2 separate regions of the Homo sapiens genome follow, and region 1 is linked to region 2. The links are contacts of gene promoters, found by promoter capture Hi-C in blood cells and fetal thymus (Javierre and others, 2016). All regions are on one chromosome and are shown on one strand. The core of a region is centred on a gene start or on the middle of the fragment in contact, and the rest is flanking DNA. Distances in the headings are between cores, read along the strand shown.

Region 1 (2,994 bases), core at 271-2,770, 120 kb before region 2:
CCTCCCTGTGCTTCCTCCCACATCCCAACAGGTTGTATTCTCTGCTCAAGGTCCCCACAACCACTTCTCATCTGACACTGGAATTTCCCAGTGATCTCAGTAGGGAAACATTCTGAAGCCACACACACTTCAGCTCCAATGCCCAGTAGTTTGAAAGAGAGAGAGAAATATTGTTTAAAATTAAAACTAACCACTGGATAATTCTTCCTTCCAATTGTTATTCCTAACAATGAGAAAGTAAACCATCTTATTGTTCTTTTGCTCCAGGCTTTGTGGGTTGCGAAGAAAACTACAGTAAATGCATCTTTGAAATCCAAAAGCAAGCCCATGATAGAGTTGGGGATAAGTACTGGAGAAAGTTCAGTTATAATGGATGAGAGTTGGAGATATTCATAACTGACACTCATTGGCATTATTATTTTTGCCACAGAAGGTGGAAACAAGTATTGGAGAAAGAAAAGAAAGGAGGGCTTGAAAAAAAAAGGTGAAGAAATCAGGCATGTAGTTAAAGCCGTAATTTCCAAATGCGTTTTTTTATTCTGCATGTTAATCAGTAAAATATTTTTGAGGATGTTCTTCAAATATATGTATATTTCTTTTAAAATTCTGTAAATATACTTATTGATCTGATATTGGTAAAGCTTAATTTCTTATTTTTTACATTAAAAATAAATATCAGGCCAGGCATCGTGGCTCATGCCTGTAATCCCAGTACTTTGAAAGACTGAGGCTGGCGGATTGCTTGAGGCCAGGAGTTTGAGACCAGCCTAGGCAACATTGTGAGACCATGTCTCTACAGAAATAAAAAGAATTAGCTGGCCAGGGTGGTGCACACCTGTGGCCCCAGCTACTTTGGAAGCTGGGAGGATTGTTTGAGCCCAGGAGGGGGAGTCTGCTGTAAACCATGATTGCCACTACCCTCCACCCTGGGTAACAAAGCAAGACCCTATCTCAACAACAACAACAAGAAAAATCAAAAGAAAAGAGAAAAGAAAAGAAACATCAGCAAAAGTTCTAATATTGTGTTCTTGAGCCCAGTGGATTGTAATGCAACCCCTCATGGTGTATTCACTTTACTTTTGTAGGTTCAATGGGCCAAAATGGCCAAAATATTTATGATCAAAAATGTCTAACATAAATTGTTTGCATTTCTGGTATAGGAAATCTTCCTGTATTCTCAATATCTTCATTAAATCTCTCATACATACAAATATTTTGGACGAAGTGTTGGCGTGTGTGTGTTTGTATTTGTGTGCATATATATGTGGAAATTAGGGAGAGAAACTGAGCTGTGTCTCTGCTGACACTGTGTGATGTAGAAACAAAACACACATGGAACAATGAGAAATCCATAAAAATGAAAATTCAAGCCAGAGCATGAAGTCAGAACTGACTGGGAAGAACATAATTCAGTCTCACATGCACCCAGAATTCCTGGAAAAGCCAGGGAGACAGCCAGGCGTTCACTTCACATGGAATGGAATTTGAATGAATTTGATTTGAATCTCAAAGGACAGGCATCATAGGTAATATCTGGGCTACACAATCACATTTCAAAATTACACACATGGTGATGGTTAATTTTATGTGTCAACTTGACTGGGCAATGGGGCACCAGATATTTGGTCAAACATTTTGAGTGGTTTCTGTGAGAATGTTTTTGTATGAGATTAGCATTTAAATCCATGGACTGACTAAAGCAGATTGCCTTCCCTAATGTGGGTGGGCCTCATCCCATCAGTTGAAAGCCTAAAAATAACAAAAAGCTGACCATCCCCTGATTAAGAGCAAATTCTTCTGCCTAATAGTCTTTGAACTGGAGCATCAGCTCTTCCCGCCTGACATGAGCTCTTCGTGGCTCTACAGCAGCTTCCGGCCTTCAGACTCCAAGTGGGACACTGGCTGGGCAGATTTTGGACTTGCCCACCTCCATAACTGTGTGAGCCTATTCCTTATTCTAAATCCCTTTTTGTGTGTATATAAATACGTATATACACATATGTGTGTGTTCATGTATATACACATATATGTGTATGCCTGTGTATGCATGTGTGTGTGTGTAATATATTGTTTCTGTTTCTCTAGGGAAGCATCATACACATACCCAATTGCAGCTTTTTTTCTTTCTCTTGACAAATTTCAGAAAAAGATGTTATCAAACACATTGTGCAAAAAATTGACTTTGTTTTCTCAAACTACCACATTTAATGATGCATGCGGAAGTTTCCACTTAAACATATTTTTAATGTGTATTATTCCACCTAAATAGAGGCAGAGTAAAGGTCTACATTCATGTTTTTTCTTCAGAATAAAAATTATTAGTGCCGCATGTACATTTTATGATAGACTTATCTTTGACAAATTCCTAGCTTGATTTTCTTAAGCCCATATTTTATCAGAGAAGCTTGGTGGCTCTAGGCAGGGATATGCCACTGTTTGCTCTTATTTATTCATTTAATAACTGGTCTATAGTTTCTCTACCATGGGTAAAGCATATAGACCCCCATGGTTGCTCTCATTGTACTTTCAGTACAGCTGTAGATTCTCTTTCTAACCTTGAGGAGGACTCTATTAATAATATGAGATTATTAGCAGCTTTTATTGACCCTCTCTTTGTCATTAATCTTTTGGCAAGAAATAGTCTTGAGCCAAACCATATGAGCTCACATGAAATTACTCAGAGAAAAAATAGGCAAATAACTATAAGATCTTAGGGCTATAGGCAATGGAAGAGCTTCCTTGTAATGACATAAAACTCAAAACACATAAAGGACAAGATTTGTAGATTTGACATGAATAAAATAAATTTATGTAGAGGAGAAAATACAAACAAAATTGAAAGGCAAATTGCACCCTAGATACACAACTTGCAACATATATTACAGCCATCAAGTAGTTTTCTTTATATAGAAAGAACAATTATGAGCAAATAATAAAATAAAGACTATGTTGATAGAAAAAGGAGCAAAGACCATAGTTAATTCAAAATCAGAA
Region 2 (3,047 bases), core at 470-2,969:
CACAGCCAGAAGCGAGAGTTTGCTCAGCTTATTAAAGCAAAAGTTTCAAAATATTAAGTTATTTCTGACTAGTTCATGGATAGCTGCTATTGTGACTCCTCCAAATGATCTCCTACTGCTCCAGCCCCTTCTTGGTACTAGAAGCTTCAGAGAGGCATCACCTGGCAGAAGGCTCATACCTGGCAGAGAAGAGCACCTCCAGGATACTGTTTGAGCACCACCACTGTCAGTTCTGACTAATGCTCTAGGGACACTGGTTGTCAAGTATCCTGGCTATCACCCTGTACCCAGTGATCTCAATAACACTCCTGCACCCAGTGTTTTGGATATCACCTCTGCACCCAGCAATCTGGATATCACCCCTGCACCCAGTGTTCTGGATATCACCCCGGCACCCAGCAATCTGGATATCACCCCTGTACCCAATGTTCTTGATATCATATCTGCATCCAGAGTTCTGGATATTACCAGTGCATAGAACAGTGTCTGACACATAGTAGCTACTCAGTAAGTTTTTCTAAATAGACTGATGAATATATAATCTATTTACTTATTTTATATTTTTTACTTACACACTTTGCAGAAGCATTACCTATTTGTTAGTTCAACCCTACACAATTGTGTTCAATAACAAAGTATCTAGCCCATTAATTCTGCACTGCTATTATCTCTACTTCCAATGCCATTAATCAAGACAATATTGAGTAAGCACATACTAAGTGGCAGAAACCCTGGGCCTTGGAAAGACCCTCCAGGAGTGAGCTGGAGATATGTTATATGCTTGGACTTCTTCCCAAGAGCACAGATGTCATAAATAATTCACAACTAGATGAGAAAAGGAGATGTCAAAGAAATTAAATGACTCATAAGTGTGCTACTATTATTCAGGCTCAATCTGACCTCTTTTTGACTTTGGTGAGAGGGTCTATTTTTTTGACCATCTAAAAGACATAAAAATAGACACCAATTATATGACAAGTTGCAAAAGCTTGAGGAGACCTCTGCATAGACATAGAATCCAAACCGAAAATAATTTATACTCATTGCCTACCTACTATGTACCTAGCACTGTGCTGAGCCATATACACACAGCATTTCAGGTAGTGCCCACCACCATCCTATAAGCAAGTACTAGTCTTCACCCCATTTTACAGATGGGATAACTAAGTTGTGGGGAGGCTAAATAATTTGTCTAATGGTACACGATTGATAAGTGCCAAAGACAAAATATAAATTCCTGTCTGTCTACCTTATAAAGATGTAAATTTAGGAGAACCAGCTTCTCTTGAATTGCAAATTTTATGCTAGAATATCTAATATTTAAATTAGAGCATTCCTTGAACTTTTGTTGGCCAGTTTAATTTTTCTTTCATCTTGTGCACACATTCGTATGGTAACATTCTCCAGTATTTTCCTTGCACCCTTTTTTCATCATGCTCTTCTCCCCAATTCCCTCATCCAGAATGGTGTGGCTTCCGTAAGTGACTAAAACCCACCCTGGCAAAATGAGCTAGGGTCTGCCCTGCTATAATTCAGACAGATCTGAATTACTTCTTGACCCTCCTCACTTCATCCACCCTGCACCTTGCCTGCCCTGTCCCCTGGTGCCCTTGACTACTAGTCTGTTTTCTATATATTGTGACTGTATACACACCTTGCCACTGAAGCTTGAGTCATAATCTATTCTATCTGTATCTCTGAAAATGATCTTTACTTCAACTTTCCTAAAGGATATAGATTTCTCTCTTCTTTGGCTCCAATAATTTGTGCCCAAACTTCAGACCAGTAATTCCCCAGATGAGCCTGCTGCTACCCTACTTGCGTCTTACTTTTGCAAGCTGTTTCCATTCTTATTAGGCTAATAACTGAAGACAGGATCAAGATATCTTTCTAACCTATCCAAAATACCTGAATATTCTGTCACATTCAACAGTAAGTCAATACAGGATTATGTATACATCTTTGTATTCTTCATATTACCCAGTCCAGCCTTCTGCACTTAATAGGTACATGAATAAGTTAATCAATAAATGAAGGAATAGTTGGTTGTTTGATGAATAGCTGGAGAAGAACTGGCATCGTGCCTAGGTAAAGTAGAATATTATTTCATAGGTACCACTTGTATTTTTTTCTTCCTACACAAAGTGTTTAAGAAATATTTGTTCATTAAGATTATTAGCATTGACCAGTAATTGATTTTGAGTCACTTATTTGGCTTACAATATTGTTTACTTATTAGCTACAATGTGTAAGACACCTACTGTACAGCAGCCAATATCTTGAGTACTTTTACAATTTTTCATTTTACAGCACAACAAAAGTTGAAGGTAAGTGTTAGTATCCATTTTTTACAGTAAAGGCAGGATAGAAGGTTCAGAGAGGTTAAGTAATTTGTAGAAGATTTCTTAGGAAATGAATAGGAGTCATGGATCCCATGTCACTCTAATTTCAAATTCTAAATTCTTTTACTCTTTCTGCTATTTTGCACTACTTCATTTTAAAAGCGGTCTTATAAAATATCCTTCTAAAATTTTTCAGGTGTTTTTCAGGAGATAAGGAACTAGCACATTGCCTTTCATTAATCCATTACAGCAGACTAGGTTGCAAGATAATCTAGCTGTTTCCTAGCAGAAGAAAAAGAATGACCTTGAATAAATGGAACCCAGCATCACTATATTTTGATGTGAGAAAAGGAAGTTGAAAAGATTCAAAGGATAGACATCTTCCCAGATTAACAGGGATGTGAGTTCATAGTTCAGGGTCCTAAGTGACTGAAGAGTAAAATGAGGAGGCTAAATGCCCAGATGAGACAGTAACAAAAGATAAAAGGAGGAACTAATCAGACAATTGGGTAAGAGGATGATAGTGAGGAATGGGTGCTGAAAACATGCTTTCCTACTTCACAAATATTTTGAGGAATAATTAAGATTTGTAGGGAGAAAAATGAATTCCCAGCTCTACCTTCTCCCCGTCTCTGGATTTGATTATAGGGATGAGGCTATTACTACAAAAAACTAAGGGTATGAGAGGATAAGAGAAGTAGAAGA

What was found. The method cuts DNA at HindIII sites, captures the fragments that hold promoters and counts their contacts. A CHiCAGO score of 5 or more calls a contact.
Region 1: a fragment that was not itself captured here is called in contact with the fragment with the promoter of NREP-AS1 in region 2 in 2 of 17 cell types (M1 macrophages and M2 macrophages); the score reaches 5.8 in M1 macrophages.

Annotation. Positions count from the first base shown.
Region 1 is chr5:111,787,138-111,790,131 of GRCh38, forward strand. It overlaps a transcript of NREP not described here. Among named protein-coding and RNA genes, the nearest start is that of NREP, 31 kb to the left of the region's middle. The HindIII fragment of the contact is 1,763 bases long and covers 640-2,402 here.
Region 2 is chr5:111,910,789-111,913,835 of GRCh38, forward strand. It overlaps NREP-AS1 (NREP antisense RNA 1), which reads left to right and starts at 1,720. Exons shown (of 4, transcript NR_046678.1): 1 at 1,720-1,932. It also overlaps a transcript of NREP not described here. The HindIII fragment of the contact is 1,485 bases long and covers 1,666-3,047 here.